Linked DNA regions of Homo sapiens: regions 2, 3, 4 and 5 are each linked to region 1. The links are contacts of gene promoters, found by promoter capture Hi-C in blood cells and fetal thymus (Javierre and others, 2016). All regions are on one chromosome and are shown on one strand. The core of a region is centred on a gene start or on the middle of the fragment in contact, and the rest is flanking DNA. Distances in the headings are between cores, read along the strand shown.

Region 1 (3,524 bases), core at 567-3,066:
GCGCTACCACAGGCTCTGACTGGCGTCCCTACTCCCTGTACCCCAGATGGACAGAACCTTCGGGTCTACAGTCGGAATATATCATTCTCCCCATTTTAACCTGAGCTGCCTGACACACGGAGGGTGTGCTGGGTAAGGGGCCTAGGGAGCCAGGGTTGAATCATGGATCCTGGGGAAAGGTTGCAGACACAGGAAGGGTTGTCACCTCTCTGTGGAGCCCTGCTGCTTACCACACAGCACCTTCTGCAGAGACTAGCTCTGAGGGTGGCAGGGGACCCCACAGGCCATGGCCACTCCCTCTCTGCACCTGTCCGTGCCTGCTGTGGAAGCCTGGACTGGGGGAGGAGATTGCTACCCTGTGAGCCTGAGGGAGCCACGTCCAGCTGTGACCTCTACCTGGGGCTTTACAGAGAGTTGTTTATGGGTAACAGACACCTTGTTTCAGAGGGAATGGGCATGAGCTGGCAAGTGAAGCACCCCCACAGCTTATCAGGAACTTTTTCTCATTTTTAAACCATCATGTCTTCATTTCACATTGGAATAAAGTGAGGTTTTGGAACCTGCTGCCCCAGTCTCTGGATTGTGAGGGCTGTTGTCAAACAGGTTACTAGGAGAGGAATATGTATAAATTAGCTCAAATTCAAGGTTATGCTTGTAATGTCACCTGAGTGGGAAGTAAGAGGGTGGAGTCACAGGCACTCAGCTGGGATTTACCTGGCCTCGTCACTAGACTAATGGGATTGTGGCACAGGTGAACATCCCGTCATTGGAGAAGAAAGGCTGGATTGAAGGCCAGGTGGGGGAGGGGTGCTAGGCTGTGGGGTCAGGCCCTGGGCATGCTGGACCTGTTAGGTCACTGAACATCTGACTGGGCACCTGCCCAGATTTGTCCCTTCAGTTGAGGTGGGATTGGCAGCACTCCCCAGAAGGCGTGCAGTGCCGGGAGAGTGGAGGAGGGTCTGACGTTTGCTATCCTGTGGTAGGTTTTAGAGCTAACTAGATGCTTGTGGAGAGCTAATGACATGGGAAGAAGGCAGCCCACCTTGATGGACCGGAGGGTTAGAGCCTGCGATGTGAGAAGCGGGTGTGTGGAGGTGGCCTGTCTACAAGAGGGCAAGTTTAAGGCCCATTGCAGTGGCACTATCTCAGCTCACTGCAGCTGGTGGCTGCCAGGCCATCCCTCTCCAGAGCAGGGAGGCCCTCAGCCTTATGTATAATTGAATGCCTTTTGGGATGCTTGGATAGTCCTTTATGTCTTGGAAATTCAGAAAAGAAAAAAAAAATTACAATCCTCCTGTCTGTTAGTTTCCCTGAGCCAACTGGATAAAAGATGTCCCTGACCCCAAGATTTTAAGTGACACCCAAGGGAAGCCACCGTTACCTTGGCTGTTGAAGCCTCCTGCATGCTCCCCAAAAACCCCAGCAGTTTCCTCTGCAGTCCCACAGTTATGTCCTGAGCAGTGGGGTACCGTGTGATGAGAGGTGCTAAGGATGGGATGAGGGTCTTTCCTGTGTTATTAGAACGGTTAAAAAGTTGTTTTAAAGGTGCCCAAATGCCCTCCTTCTTAAACTTAATTAGCTAATAAGATGCCTTATACAAGCAAAACCAGGTACGGGAAAGCAAGTGCATTTCAAGTCCAAGCTCACCCCTTAAATTAGCTGTAATACCCTCAGCAGGTGGCCCCACCTCAATGAGCCTGTCTCCCATTCAAAAAGCAGAACGAGTGAGAGGGCGGGGCCTGGAGCTTTACCCAATCAGTGGCGTCGGAGTGGAAATCCTCCAATCGGGAGTAGCCGGAGAGCAGGGGCGGCTTCCGGGATTTGGCGGTGGCCTTTGTTGGCTGCAGTAAGAGCTCAGTCTCTTCACCAGGGGCTCCCAGTCCTTCCATCTGGGAGGCCAAGGCGGCTTCGCGTTCTGAGAATAGACAGAACCTCTGTTACTCTGTGACCGGCAGGCACCGGGAGATCCGTAGCTCAGACGCCAGGACATCCCGGAAGCTGGGAAATGGTGAATGTGCCAGGTCGGGGGTCCCCAGAAGAGGGAGAGGGGCGGTCGGAAGCGGCGGGAACCCTCTTTGAGGTTAGCTTCGGGGTCTGGGCCCTGAGTCCCCGCGGACGCAACTCGGCCCTTGGTCCCCTCCGCCGCAAGATGGCGGCCGGGCCGGCAGCCGGGACCCCGCGCGTCCGGTCCCCTCCCGACCCCGCAGAGCGACCTCTGCCATGGCCGGAGCCGTCTTTGGGTCGCCGCAGCCCGGCGTCTCCCGAGATTGTGCGGTGAGAACGTGAGGGTCTTAGGGGAAATCCCGGGTCGGCGTGTGATTCGTGTGTGGGAAGATACTGTGCCCCGTGGTGTCCCAGTCTCCTTTTTCCTCTTACAAATTAAGGGGAGTCACCCTTAAAGCGTTAAAGGGTTGATTTAGGTAAACAGCGATTGGTGAAATGGGAAGCCTGCCGCCGTGGTTTGTGGTTTAGGGTCCTCTGGAGCAGCGATTTCAAAATCCCAGGGCTCAGCTTAGGAATGCTGCTGGGGAAAAGAAATAGGGACAATCTCTCTTCCACTTTGGCTGTAGAAAACGAATACATTTCCACAGAAAGTGTGCTAGATTAATTGGTCAATTACAAACATTCATTAAAATATCAGGTCCTCTCTTTTGCAGTGGAGGATTTGTGACAGTGGATATCTGTGTTCCATATTCTACTGCTATCTGGATGTCCGACTTTAATGCCAAATGTTATGAGACAGGACTTGGCACCTCCTAGAAGTGTTCACATATACTAAATGATCTGCTATTATGGAAATAATTAAATGACATGTTTCTTGCTCGAAAGAGGTATTTTGGCCTTACCTGTTGAAGTATAAAGTGTAAGTGCCTTACAGTTTCCTTCCTTTCTATAAAAACTGTTTTGAGTGATTTTGCTATTTTCCTGAAACCTGTTAGGTCACTGAACATCTGACTGGCTGGGCACCTGCTCCTGTCCCTTCAGTTGAGGTAGGATTGGCAGCACTCCCCAGAAGGCGTGCAGTGCCAGGAGAGTGGAGGAAGGTCTGACGTTTGCTATCCTGGGGTAGGTTTTAGAGCTCGCTAGATGCTTGTGGAGAGCTGATGAGATGGGAAGAAGGCACCCCACCTCGATGGACCTGAAAGAGAGAGCCTGCGAATTGAGAAGCGGGTGTGTGGAATAACCCTGACTAGGCATAGAAGACCTCAGTCTTATTTGAGCCTGCAAAAGGAGGTCATTGAAGGCCCAGTTAGTTCTTCCTGGGGAGCGCCCCCTTCAGGTGTCCCTGAGGTTCACAGCAGCCATGGAGGGAGCCCTTTGTTACTGGGAGAAGCTGCAGAGTTCTGGAAAGCAGGGGATTCACAGGCGGATGTGGTCGAGGTTGGGCTGGAAGGGAGATTGGGAAGCTCTTTCTGAGGGTGGAATTGTTAGTGTCCTGGGGCTGTTTCTTGACTTGGTCAAATAAAACATCTGGATATAGGTAAGAAGTGCCTTAATTGTAAAGGAGTATTGCAAGAGGAGGA
Region 2 (3,524 bases), core at 279-2,778, 120 kb before region 1:
TATATGTGTCTTCACGGTGAGATTTGTCTCTTGAATACAGCACACTGATGGATCTTGATTGACTCTATCCAGCTCGCCATTGTGTGTCTTTAAATTGGGGCATTCAGGCCATTTACACTTAAGGTTAATATTGTTATGTTTGAATTTGATCCTGTCAAATGATGTCAGCTGGTTATTTTGCAGACCTGTTGACATAGTTGCTTCTTAGTGTCATTGGTCTTTGTAGTTCCATGTGTTTTTGCAGTGGCTAGTAATAGTTTTTCCTTTCCATATTTAGTGCTTCCTTCAGGGGCTCTTGCAAGACAAGCCTAGTGGTGACAAATTCCCTCAGCATTTGCTTGTCTGAAAAAGATTTTATTTCTCCTTTGCTTATGAAGCTTAGTTTGGCTGGATACTAAATTCTCAATTTAAAATTCTTTTCTTTAAGAATGTTGAACATTGACCCCCAATCTCTTATGGCTTGCAGTGTTTCTGCTGAGATGTTTGCTATTAGTCAAATGGCCTTCCCTTTGTAGGTGACCTGACCTTTTTCTCTGGCTGCCCTTAACATTTTTTCCTTCATTTTGACCTTGGAGAATCTGATGAGTATGTATCTTGGGATTGATCTTCTCATGGGCTATCTTACTGCAGTTCTCTAGATTTTCTGAATTCAAATGTTGGCTTGTCTTGTTGAGTTGGGGAAGTTCTCCTGGATGATATCCTGAATTATGTTCTCCAACTTGGTTCCATTCTCCCCATCGCTTTCAGGTACCCCAATTAGTTGTAGGTTTGGTCTTTTTACATAATTCCATAGTTAGGTTTTGTTCATTCCTTTTCTTTCTTTTTTCTCTAACCTTATCTTGTTTCAGCAAGATAGGTTTCAAGCTCTGAAATTCTTCCCTCTGCCTGGTCTATGTGGTTAGTGATACTTGTGGTTGCATTTTGACATTCTCGTGTTGTCCATCAGGTCTTTTATGTTCCTCTCTAAACTGGTTGCTCTGTTTAACGGTTCCTTATGATTTATCATGGTTCTTAGCTTGTTTGCATTGGGTTAGAACACACTCCTTTATCTCAGCGAAGTTCACTATTACCTGCCTCCTGAAGCCTATTTCTGTACATTCATCCATCTCAGCCTCCACCCAGCTGCTTGTCCTTGCTGGAGAGGTGTTGTGATCATGTGGGGGAGAAGAGGCCCTCTGGCTTTTTGAGTTTTTAGAGATTTTTGTTCTTTCTCATCTTCATGAGTTTATCTGCCTTCAATCTTTGAGGGTCCTGACCTTTGTACAGGGTATTTATGGTGACTTTTTTGTTGATGCTATTGTTGTTGCTTTCTGTTTGTTTGTTTTTCTTTTAACAGTCAGGGCCCTCTTCCACAGGGCAGCTGTGTTTTGCTGGGGGTCCACTCCAGACCCTTTTGCCTGGATTCCTCCCACACCTGGAGGTGTCATCAGTGGAGGCTGCAGAACAGTAAAGATAGCTGCCTGCTCCTTCCCTCTGGGATCTCTGTCCCAGAGGGGCACTGACCTGATGCCAGCAAGAACTCTCCTATATAAGGTGTCTGGCAATTTCTGTTGGGAGTGGTCTCATCCAGTCAGGAGGGTTGGGATCTGGGACCCACTTAACGAAGCATTCTGGCTGCCCCTTGGCAGAGTCAGTGTGCTGCACTGAGGGGAATCCCACTCATCTGGACTGCCTGAATTCCTCAGAACAAGCAGGCGGATAAGGCTGATCCAAAGAGACTGTGGCTGTCCCTCCCCTCAGGCGTTCAGTCCCGGGGGATCAGAGTTCTGTCCCTAAACCCCTGGCTGGAGTTGCTAAAATTCCTTTAGGGAGGCTCCTCCCCCTCAGTGAGGAGCACTGGGTCAGGGTCTGGCCTAAAGAGGCAGTCTGGCCACAATCTGCCACAGCTGCTGTGCTGCACTGTGGGGAATTCCTTCTGGGTCCAAACTGTCTAGTCTCCCTGGCACCAGCAGGGAAAACATGGCAGTCTGGAGCTGCAGTGATGGCTGCCACCCCTCCCCCCGGGAGCTCAGTCATCTTAGGCAGCAGGCAGCTGCAGTGATAATGGCCACCCCTCTCTCTGAGAACTAGGTAGTCTTAGGTAGTCTCCAGCCAAGTGGCTGCTGAGAATCTGTACAGCTCTGTGCTTGGAACCCAAGGAACTCGTGGCGTGGGCTCATGAGAGGGATCTCTTGATCTGTAGGTTGTACAGATCTGTGGAAAAAGCAATGGTTTCCCAGGCAGGGTAGAAGGATCACTCACCGCCTCCCTTGGATGGGGTTGGGCACTCCCGTTACCCTGTGTGGTTCTCAGGTGGGCCATGGCATTGCCCCACTTTTCCTCACTCTCTGTGGGTCATGTCAACTGTCTAGTCAGTCTCATTGAGAGAACCTGGGTATCTCAGTGCTGGTGCAGGATTCACTTGCAGTTTTCATTCTTCTCAGTGGGAAACTTCAACTGCAGCTGTTTCTAGTCAGCTATCATGACCCCTCCCTCCCACGGATAAATTTAACAAAACAAGTGCAAGGACTTTACACTGGAAGATTTCCTTATGCTAAAACAAATCAAAGAGCTGAATAAATGCAAAGACATCCTATGTTAAATGATAATATTGTAAAGAATACCCCAAAAATTGACCTACAAATTAAATGGAGTCCCTTCAAATTTCAACTATAGTTTCTATGGTTTTTGTAGAAATTGACAAGCTTTCTCAAAATCCACATATATATGCAAAGCAAAGAAAAACCACAAACACAATCCTTAAAGTAATAACAAAATTCAGCGGGGCACGGTGGCTCACACCTGTAATCCCAGCACTTTGGGAGGAGGAGGCGGGCAGATCACCTGAGGTCAGGAGTTCGAGACCAGCCTGACCAACATGGAGAAACCCCTTCTCTACTAAAAATACAAAATTATCTGGGCATGGTGGCACATGCCTGTAATCCCAGCTACTTGGGAGGCTGAGGCAGGAGAATCGCTTCAACCTGCGAGGCAGAGGTTGTGGTGAGTTGAGATAGCGCCATTGCATTCCAGCCTGCGCAACAAGAGTGCAACTCTGCCTCAAAAAAACAAAAAAACAAAACAAAAAAAGAATAACAAAATTCTAAAACTCAATAAAACTAATTTTTATTTACTACAAAGTAACAATAATCAAGCCTGTGGTGGTAGCACAGGGATAGATTCATATAGAACAATGAAATAGGTAGTTTCATTACTAAACATGCATTTATGATAATGTCATTTGAACAAATGTGCCAAGAAATTTCTGAGGAAAGAAAAGTCTTTTCAACAAACTATACTGGAAAGTTGGATATTGGCCTGCAAAATAATGACACTGGACTCCTAACTCAAATCACACATCAAAAAACAAATAACATGCCAACCAACCAACAAACAAAAGTTAAAAAGATCATACACTTAAATGTAATCGCTGAAACTAAAAAATTCTTAGGAGGAATATTAAGGTTTTGCAACCTTGCATTAGGCAATAGTATTTTAGATTTTACACCAAAGGACAATCAAAAAGAGAAAACTATACTTCACCA
Region 3 (3,524 bases), core at 399-2,898, 120 kb after region 1:
AAGCCTGGACACTTCCTCAGCCTTCTCTACCAGCTTACTACAGCCGAAAATTCAGATCTTCAGATCCTCCATGGAAGGAGATTGTGAGACCTCTGCAAACCTTTACAGGAAGGTCATTATATTATAATAAAAGGGTCAATTCAACAGGAAGTTATAAAAATCATTAATATATGTGCACCACACATCAGAGCACCTAATTATATAAAGCAAATATTGACAGATATGAAAAGGTAAATTGACAGCAATATGATAATCGTAGGAGACTGACTTCAATATCCCACTTTGGATACAATAGTAGGTAGAAAATCTAGACAAAAAATTAATAAAGAAACAGGAAGCATGAATAACACTATACACCAAATAAACTTAACAGACATATACAAAATTTTCACCCAACAGCAGAAGAATACACATTCTTCTCAAGCACACATGCAACATTCTCCAGGATAGATCACGTGTTAGGTCACAAATAATGTCTTAACAGACTTCCCCTTTTCCTATTTGTCCTGAGAATACTCTCTGGTGGTGCTTGCGGCTGCAGTGTTTACCCAGAGATAACTTTGCCACAAAATATCTTGCTTTTATTATTATTTTCTCATCGCTGTAGTATATCAACTTTGGAAACAAAAGATATCATTCTATTTATGGCATTCTGTTTTTAGTAGTGGTATTTCCATTTACAAAATATAGTAATTCTCGATCACTGAAAATGTCAAATCCTAGAAACCGTAGCATTCCTATGTGGATGTTAACATCATTCTTGAACAGTTGTTGATCAAAGATTCATTTGATGTATCCTATTTTTCTAAAATAGATTATTCTGATGATTCAGATGATTCTGATGTTAGTTCTGTTTAGAAATAACTCCAAGAATAGTTTTTATATTTTATTTTGACATTGAAAATCAGTCAGATTTGCTTCAGTCTCAAAGAGCATGTTTATGTAAAATTAAATGAGCGCTGGAAGTGACCTGCACTTTTTTTTTTCTAAATGGGAAAAGGGTTAAGAGGATTGAAATTATATCAAATGTCTTAGTCTGTTTCATGCTACTATAACAGAATGCCTGAGACTGGGTAATTTATAAAGAACAGAAATTTATTTTCTCACAGTCTGGATCTGGGAAGTCCAAGATAAAGGCACCAGTATATGGTAAGGGTGTTCTTTCCATGCTATTCCATGGTGAAAGGCAGAAAGAAAAGAGACTACACACATGGGCCAGGCATGGTGGCTCATACCTGTAATCTCAGCACTTTCGGAGGCCAAGATGGGTGGATCCCTTGAGTTCAGGTGTTTGAGGCCAGCCTGGGCAACATGGGGAAACCCTGTCTCTTCAAAAAATATAAAAATTAGCCAGGCATGGTGGCACCCACCTGTAGTCTCAGCTACTTGGGGGGCTGAGACAGGAGGATCACTTGAGTCCAGGAGGTTGAAGGTGCAGTAGCCAAGATCACACCACTGCACTTCAACCTGGGTGACAGAGCAAGACCTTGTCTCAAAAAATAAATAAATAAAATAAAATAAATTAAAAAAAGAGTACACACAGTCATGTGTGAGAGAGACAGAGAGAAAAAGAGAGAAAAAGGAGGACTGAATTCATCCTCACATAAGGAACTCGTTTCCATGCTAACAGCTTTAATCCATTCATGACAGTGGAGTCCTCATGACCTAATTACCTTTCGTTAGGCCCCACCTCCCAACACTGTTGCATTGGGGATTAAGTTTCTAACACATGCTTCTTGAGGGACACATTCAAACCGTAGCACCAAGTACTTTTCTGACCAAAATGGTATAAAACTGGAAATCAATAATAGCAAGAAATAAGATAATTCACAAATATGTGGAGACTAAGTAACACGTGCTTAAACAACTACTGATTCAGAGCGGAAATAAAAGGGAATTGAAATATCTAGTGGTGAACAAAAGTGAAAACATACATATCAAAACTCAAAGTATGCCATGAAAGCAGTGATAAGAGGGAAGTTTATGGAGATAAATGCCTACATTTAAAAAGAGAAAGATATCAAAATGACAACGTAACATTACACCCCAAAGAACTAAAAAAAAAATTAGCAGAAGGAAATGACAAAGATCAAAACAGAAACAAACCAAATAGAGAATGGAAAAGCTATAGAAAAATGAACAAAACTGGGTTGTTTTTTAAAAAACTAAAATCAACAAACACTTACCAAGACTAATAAAGAAAAAATAGACAAGACATAAATAAATAAAATCAGAAATGAAAGTGGAGACATTATCTCCACTAGTAATGTATCAGATATAAAAAGAATCATAAGGGACTATTATAAACATCTGTATACCAACCAATTGGATAGCTTAGGGAAAATATAAAAATTCCAGTACACATTCAACATGGTACTGGAAGTCCTAGTTAGAGTAATCAAACAAGAGAAAAAAATTAAAGGCATTCAAATTGGAAAAGAAGTCAAATTATCCCCATTCTTTGATTATATAACCTTATATCTAGAAAAACCTGAAGACTCCACCAAAGAAACTCTTAGATTTGATAAATGAATTCAGTAGTTTCAGAATACAAAATCAATATACAAAAATCAGCAGCATTTCTATACACCAATAACGATCAAGCTGATAATCAAATCAAGAAGGCAATCCCATTTCCAATAGGTACAAAAAATAATAAAATACTAGGAACATACATAACTGAGGAGGTGAAAGATCTCTAGAAGGAAAACTACAAAACACTGATGACAGCAATTGTAGCTGACATAAACAAATGGAAAAAATCCCATGCTTGTGAATTAGAAAAATTTATAGAGGCAAAATGACCAAACTGCCCAAAGCGACCTACAGACTCAATGCAATTCCTATCAAACTACCAATGTCATTTTTCACAGAATTAGAAGAAACAATACTAAAACTCATATGAAACCAAAAAGAGTCAAAGTAATCAAAGCAATCCTAAGCAAAAAGAACAAAGCTGGGCACATCACATTGCCTGACTTCAAATTATACCATAAGGCTAAGGTAACCAAAACAGCATGGTACTGGTATGAAAATAAACACACAGATCAATGGAACAGAATAGAGAGCTCAGAAATAAAACCACATGTTATAACCAACTGATCTTTGACAAAGTTGGCAAGAAAATACACTGAGGAAAGGACACCCTATTCAATAAATGGTGCTGGGAAAATAGATTGCCATATACACAAAAATGAAACTGGACCCCTACTTATCTATCTATCTATCAATCACTATATGCAAAAATCAACTCAAGATGGATTAAAGACTTAATGTAAGAATTAAAACTATTCACTCAGTGCTCAATGGCGCCCAGGCTGGAGTGCAGTGGTGTGATCTCAGCTCGCTACAACCTCCACCTCCCAGCCGCCTGCCTTGGCCTCCCAAAGTGCCGAGATTGCAGCCTCTGCCCGGCCGCCACCCCGTCTGGGAAGTGAGGAGCGTCTCTGCCTGGCTGCCCATCGTCTGGGATGTGAGGAGCCCCTCTGCCTGGCTGCCCAGTCTGGAAAGTGAGGAGCGTCTCT
Region 4 (3,524 bases), core at 339-2,838, 95 kb after region 1:
ATTAAAATATATGTATTTAAAAACAAAAAGCAACAGTAATCTATGTGTTTCTGTAACAAATTGGGATCTGTCTTGGCGTTAAACCACATCATGGACCAAATGTGCCATACTAATGATGAGCATTTAGTACAATTTGAGACTGAAATTTAGTACACTATGTTCTAGATAGGTCACTCTAACAGTTTGCCTGCTGTATTTATAGTAACCATTTTCCTCCAGACCGTTCAAGCAGAAAAGGTAACTAATTGCTTCATCTCCTTTTGTGCTTATTTGGAAATTTTAGTTACAGTGTTTAACTGGCATGGATTAATAGAGTTGGAGTTTTATTTTTAAGAAAAATTCACAAGCTAACTTCCACTAATCCATTACCCTTTATTTTATTGAAATGTATAATTAACTTAACTGAAGAAAGGGTTCTTCTTGGGAGTACGTTGTCGTAACATTTACAGATTTCCCTTCATTTAAACTAAATTACTGTTGTATGTTGATCTGCTGCATATTTCTGTCATGACAGTGCTTGCATCCTATTTGGTGTAGTCAGCAAATAAACTTTTCATTTTAAACGAACAAATATAAGAAGCATGAATACAGGATCTACACATCAGAAAAATTATAGAGGGACAGAATTTTTAAAAAATAACCAAAACTAGTCTCAATAAAGTATAATTATCAAGGACAAAAAGAAAATTTTACAACTTGAAAATAGGAAAAAATGAAGATTAATTCAAAACAAAAAAGGACATGAACTATGACTTTCTTCTCACTTTCTTCATTGATCATTACTTAAGCTTCTTTATTTCATCAAACTTTTCTTACACTGCTGTGCCCAGTTAATTCCATGACATTTTTTATTAATTGGTTTAAAGTTGCATTGTTCCAACTTATTAGAGGCCCATTTTTAATTAATAATTTGCCTCTTAACTTCTCCATTGCAACATTAACAAAATGAAAATTATGAAATTACAAACAAAATGAAAATTATGAAAGCACTTTGCAAAAACATTTCATCTGTAACTGTTGTTTATGATACGTGAAAAATCCTTGAAGGGCAAAGACGGATTCTGAGTCTTATATACACTGCAATTGACTGCCCATTGCGGTGCTTAACCTGCAGGAAGAAATCAACAAACGGCCATTCATTATACAAAAAGAAGACAATCCACATAAATCGGAGAACTATCTGACCAGCTTAGGAAACTGTGGATTCCTTCCACAGCAGGCAGAGCCCAGCCTGGGTATCCTGGGATGGCGGCTCATGAGCACAAAGGGGCTGACCATGGGAAAACAGGCAGTGATCAGTGCAGAGGTGTTCAACAGCCACCAACTGGGATTAGGAAAAAGAGACATATGTAAAGATGGAGGAGAGCGAGTAAAGTAACACAAGGTGCTCACCAGGACCAGGATGCTTTGGGTGACTCTGGACTCAGGGGAGGATCTGGCGGAGAGGTTGGTCCCATGAATGTGCTGGACCTGCTGCTTGTGCCTGTGCAGGATAAAAACCATGGAGCCACTGGCCAAGGTCATGAGCCCCAAACACAAAACATCAAGGGATGATAACAAGACAATATGTAATGAATGTGGAATTCTGCTCCTACTTCCTCCAGAACAATATCCATAATCATTTGTCTTTGTGCTATTTATGCTGTTCCACTTGCCAGTCACATGTAGAAGAACAGTAATATTTACCAGCGTGTTCAGAATCCAGCACAGGACCAGGATAAAAGACCTGATGTATTTGTGAGCATGTAGCTTCAGCTCTGCCCACCTGAATTCACTGGGGCTGATGGTGATGACCTGGAAGACACTCAGTGCACACAGCCCTGCCCACTCTGTGAACATAAAACACAAATTTGCATCCAATATCACTGAGGGAATCTTTCAACCCAAAAGCAGCCATTGTTTGTGGGATTCCTTTAGAGAGTATAACCAAGGAGTTGGCTATGGTCAGGTGCTTGAGAATCAGATCTGTGGACTGTAACATACCTCTGGTGAAACAAAGGAAACTATAGTGGTAGAGAAGAAAGAAATTCCCCAGGAATCCGACCATGATCTGAGATAATAAGATCATGCCTATTGCAAAATCCTTGGAGGCCATTTGTCATTTTTCAGTGACTGATAATTACATTCAAAGTGAGAGAACCCTGTGTGGAAACATAAAGTTTCACTTTTGCAAATAAAATCCACTATTGTACACTTACCATTGTTTCCAACTTAGACATTTTCTTATTAGACCCTGTTTTTTAAATAAGAGTTTTGCTCTAAAAAGAAGAACATATGCATCCCCATGAGAGGAGTACTATATTAGTGTTTTGCATGTAACTTTTACAATAATTCTGTGGTATAAGTGCTTTACTATTTCCATTTTACAGGTAAGAAGATCTTACACAAGGAAGCTTAATGAATTTTCTAAAGTAACTGCTTTGTAAGAGGCAGAATCAAAATTGGACAATGTGTTTAATCACTGTGTGTCTCACCCTTGGACATAGTATTTTTTTAATGCTTCACACATTTCATGTTGTATATATTGTCGCTTTCTTTAAACCTGGATGTAGTTTTTTCTTCATTTTTGATTGTGGCAATTTCTCATTTAAATCTAAGTGCTTATTTCATGAGCAAATATCACCTATAATGATTCAGAAATCCAAGTAGAATATAGATGCACTGATTTAGTATAATCCTAAAAGAATAATCATACAAGACCAAATGATATTTATTGAATGCTTAAATGATTTCATGCTGAAATTAAAAAAGAAGATTCTTTCTCATCTTAACCAAGAAGGATACAGAAATGACTGTTGCTAAGCAAGGGGTCAAGGGACATGAGTAGGAGATAAAACAGTGCAAAGGAGAAACAGGTTGTCATGAATTACAGATAAATTTAGTATTTGTTTATGAATACAAAAATATCAAATGAAATTATTTCAGGCTGGGCACCATGGCTCTCATCTATAATCCCAGCACTTTGGGAGGCCAAGGTGGGCAAATCATTTGAGGTCAGGAGTTCGAGACCAGCCTGGCCAACATGATGAAACTCCATCTCTACTAAAAATACAAAAATTAGCTGGGCATGGTGGTGCATGCACCTGTGGTCCCAGCTACTTGGGAGGCTGAGGCAGGAGAATTGCTTGAACCCCGGAGGCGGAGGCTGCAGTGAGCTGAGATCCCACCACTGTACTCCAGCATGGGTGACAGAGAAAGACTCCATCTCAAAAAAAAAATTATTTCAATGTCAGAATTGTTAGGTATATTAAAATATAAGTCTGTTATGTAAAAGGAAAACTCGAGGTAGGGAAAATTATTCACTGAATTAAGTGTTACTAAGATGAGTATTGAGCCTAAGAATGGCTTCAGAACATTTTTGAAGACAGAGTAAATATTACCAAATAATTTACTTCAGAAAACGACTGAAGTCCTTGATTTTTGTTCTAATATGAAAACCTAAGGTCATCAAGATACCTTTCCTTGACCGCTCCTCCCCTGACTTCATGAAAGAATATGGTCTTTTCGTCATTCTCAGAGACCAG
Region 5 (3,524 bases), core at 297-2,796, 71 kb after region 1:
AATAAGAACAAAAAAAATTATTGTAATTGAGGAATGGCATGAAAAAAGATTACTTGATGACTCAAAGTGATTAGCACTTACTTACCACATACAGTGTTTTAGACACTGTACTAAGCTGTGGCACATTTATAGGCATAACACCCAAAGTTTAAAAATAAATAATTGAAAGATTCATTGGAAATGACAAATTGGCATATTTTTAGTCATACCAGGTGACAGTAAGGCAATCATAAAAGTTGACTTTTGGTGTACAATTAATAAATGAATATAAAGAATGTTACATAATTTTGTTAGAAATTTGACTAAGTTGTCATAGAAATAAACCAGCAGCATTTCAACCAGTAAACAGAGGATGTGCATTTTTAAAAGGAAAATCTGACAAAGGTATGCTTTAGGCCGGAAAATTGTTATTGAATTAACGATAGGAATGTAATGTCATATTTTCTGAACACTCTAAGTTACAATAGAAAGTATCTATTAAAATGTATTAGTCAATTCTCATGCTTCTATGAAGAAATTCCCAAGACTGGTTAATTTATAAAGGAAGGAGCTTTAATTGATTCAGTTCCACAAGGCTGGGGAGGCCTCATGATACTTAAAATCATAGTGGAAGAAAAAACAAACACGTCCTTCTACACATGATGGCAGGATAGAGAAGTGTGGAATGAAGGGGGGAAAGCTCCTTACAAAACCATCAGATCTTGTGAGAACTCACTCTCTATCATGAGAAGAGCATGGAGGTAACCGACCCCATGATTCAATTACCTCCCACTGGGTCACTCCCACAACACATGGGGATTATGGGAACTACAATCAAGATGAGATTTGGGTGGGGACACAGCCAAACCATATCATTATGCCCTTGGCCCCTCCCAAATCTCATGTCCTCACATTTCAAAACACAATCATGCCTTCCCAGCAGTCCCCCAAAGTTTTAACTCATTCCAGCATTAATGCAAAAGTCCAAGTCCAAAGTCTCATCTGGGACAAGGCAAGTCCCTTTCACCCATGAGCCTGTAAATTCAAAAACAAGTTAGTTACTTCCTAGATACAGCGGGGGTACGGGCATTGGGTAAATACACCCATTTCAAGTGAATGAAATTGGCCAAAATGAAGAGGCTACAGGCCCCATGCAAGTCTGAAATCCAGCAGGGCAGTGAAATCTTAAAGCTCCAAAATGATCTCCTTTTACTCCGTGTCTCTCATCCAGGTCACACTAATGCAAGAGACGAGTTCCCATGGCTTTGGGCAGCTCCACCCCTTTGGCTTTGCAGGGTATAGCCCCCCCTCCTGGCTGCTTTCACAAGCCGTCATTGAGTGCCTGTGGCTTTTCCAGGTGTAGGGTGCAAGCTGTCCATGGATCTACCATTTCTGGGATCTTGAGGATGGTGGCACTATTCTCACAGCTCCACTAGGCAATGCCCCAGTGGGCACTCTGTTTGAAGGCTCCGATTCCACATTTTCCTCCCGTATTGCCCTAGCAGAGGTTTAGTTTTTTGTGTTTTTTTGGTTTTTTTTTGAGATGGAGTCTCACTCTGTCACCAAGGCTGGAGTGCAATGGTGTGATCTCGGCTTACCGCAACCTCCGCCTCCCGGGTTCAAGCGATTCTCTTGTCTCAGCCTGGGACTACAGGCACATGCCACCATGCCTGGCTAATTTTTGTATTTTTAGTAGAGATGGGGTTTCATCATATTGGTCAGGCTGGTCTCGAACTTCTGACCTCAGGTGATCCACCCACCATGGCCTCCCAAAGTGCTGGGATTACAGGCATGAGCCACCGGGCCCAGCCACAAGTGCCAGTTTCTTACATGCATACATTGCATAGTGGTGATGTCTGGGCTTTTAGCATACTCATCACCTGAATAGTGAAATTTCTGCTGAATCGTTTTTCACCCCTCACCCTCCTTCCACCCTCCAACCTTTCGTGGACTCCAGGGACTGTTATTTCACTCTATAAGTCAATAAGTGCCCATTGTTTAGCTCCTACTTATGAGATCAAACAGTATTGAATGTTCTCTTCTTGAGTTATTTCACTAAGGAAAATGGCTTCCAGTTTCATCCATGTTGCTGTGAAATACATGATTTCTATTTTTTATTGCTGAGTATTTTGTGGTACATGTGTACCACATTTTAATTTTTTTATTTTTAATTTTTTGGGTAACATAGTAGGTTTATATGTCTGTGAGGTATACGAAATATTTTGATACCGACATACAATGTGTAATAATCACATCAGGGTAAATGGGGATTCATCACCTCAAGCATTTCTTCCTTGTGTTATAAACAATTCAATTATACTCTTGTAGTTATTTTTAAATGTACAATTACATTAATTTTGACTACAATCACCCTCTTGTGCTAGTAAATACTATATCTTAATTCTATTTTTTTGTATGCATCAATTATTCCCACTCTCCCACCCACTGGTAACCATCAGTGGATTATGGGCTAGGGGTGCATATCATTCTCAGCCTCTGGTAAACACCATTCTACTCTGTCTCCATGAGTTCAATTGCTTTAATTTTTAGCTGCCACAAGTAAGTGAGAACCTGCAAAGTTTGTCTTTCGGCACGTGGCTTATTTTGCCTAATATGATGACTTCCAGTTCCATACATGTTGTTGCAAATGACAGAATCTTATTCTTTTTTACAGCTGAATAGCCCATTGTGTACATGTCCCACATTATTTATACATTCATCTGTTGATGAACACTTAGGTTGCTTTCATATCTTGACTATTGTGAATAGCACTGTAAATAAACATAAGAATGCAGATTTTGTTTTAATATAGTGATTTATCTCTCTTTGGGTATATACCTAATAGTGGGATTGCTGCAGCTAATGGTAGTTCTATTTTTAGTTCTTTAAGAACTCTCCATACTGTTTTCCATAAAGGTACTAATTTACATTCCCACCAACAGGGTATAAGCGTTCCCTTATCCCTGTAGCCTCACCAACATCTGTTGCTTTTAGACGTTTTGATAATAGCCATTCTGACTCATGTAAGTTGGTATCTCATTGTGGTTTTCATTTGTATTTCTCTGATGATTAATGATGTTTAGGATCTTTTCATATGTTTATTGGCCACTGGCATATGTTGTTTTGGAAAATGTCTCTCTGTTATGTTCTTTGCCCACTTTGTAATGGGGTCACTTGTTTTCCTCTTATTGAGTTGTTTTGAGTTCCTTGTAAATTCTGGATGTCAGCCCTTTGTCATATGCATAGTTTGCAAATATTTTCTTCTGTTCTGTAGGTTGTCTGTTTACTCTGTTATTTCTTTTGCTGTACAGAAGCTTTTTAGTTTAATTGAGTCTACTTCTGTTTTTCTTGTGTTTGCTTTTGAGGACTTTGTCATAAATTCTTTGCCTAGGCCAATGTCTAGAAAAGTTTTTCCTAAGTTTTCTTTCTTCCAGAATTTTTATAGTTTCAGGTCTTATGTTTAGATCTTTAATCCATCTTGAGTTAATTTTTCTATATGGTCAGAGGTCTAGGTCCAGTTTTATTCTTCTGCATATGGCTATCCA

Evidence for each region. The method cuts DNA at HindIII sites, captures the fragments that hold promoters and counts their contacts. A CHiCAGO score of 5 or more calls a contact.
Region 2: a fragment that was not itself captured here is called in contact with the fragment with the promoter of KRABD5 in region 1 in 7 of 17 cell types (M1 macrophages, M2 macrophages, neutrophils and 4 more); the score reaches 7.9 in M1 macrophages.
Region 3: a contact is called between a fragment that was not itself captured here and the fragment with the promoter of KRABD5 in region 1, in 2 of 17 cell types (neutrophils and M0 macrophages). The highest score is 6.9, in neutrophils.
Region 4: a fragment that was not itself captured here is called in contact with the fragment with the promoter of KRABD5 in region 1 in 7 of 17 cell types (neutrophils, M2 macrophages, M1 macrophages and 4 more); the score reaches 10.8 in neutrophils.
Region 5: a contact is called between a fragment that was not itself captured here and the fragment with the promoter of KRABD5 in region 1, in 1 of 17 cell types (M2 macrophages). The highest score is 5.3, in M2 macrophages.

Annotation. Positions count from the first base shown.
Region 1 is chr16:31,711,428-31,714,951 of GRCh38, forward strand. KRABD5 (KRAB domain containing 5) reads left to right here and starts at 1,817. Exons shown (of 5, transcript NM_001130913.2): 1 at 1,817-2,008. The coding sequence starts at 2,006. RefSeq lists enhancers at 1,984-2,103, 3,228-3,277 and a silencer at 2,194-2,253. The HindIII fragment of the contact is 15,701 bases long and covers 1-3,524 here.
Region 2 is chr16:31,586,929-31,590,452 of GRCh38, forward strand. No RefSeq gene overlaps it. Among named protein-coding and RNA genes, the nearest start is that of LINC02190, 35 kb to the left of the region's middle. The HindIII fragment of the contact is 2,307 bases long and covers 376-2,682 here.
Region 3 is chr16:31,832,762-31,836,285 of GRCh38, forward strand. No RefSeq gene overlaps it. Among named protein-coding and RNA genes, the nearest start is that of ZNF267, 39 kb to the right of the region's middle. The HindIII fragment of the contact is 6,968 bases long and covers 1-3,524 here.
Region 4 is chr16:31,806,750-31,810,273 of GRCh38, forward strand. It overlaps the pseudogene PPP2CBP1 and the pseudogene VN1R3. Among named protein-coding and RNA genes, the nearest start is that of ZNF267, 65 kb to the right of the region's middle. The HindIII fragment of the contact is 1,605 bases long and covers 787-2,391 here.
Region 5 is chr16:31,782,338-31,785,861 of GRCh38, forward strand. No RefSeq gene overlaps it. Among named protein-coding and RNA genes, the nearest start is that of KRABD5, 71 kb to the left of the region's middle. The HindIII fragment of the contact is 3,489 bases long and covers 1-3,291 here.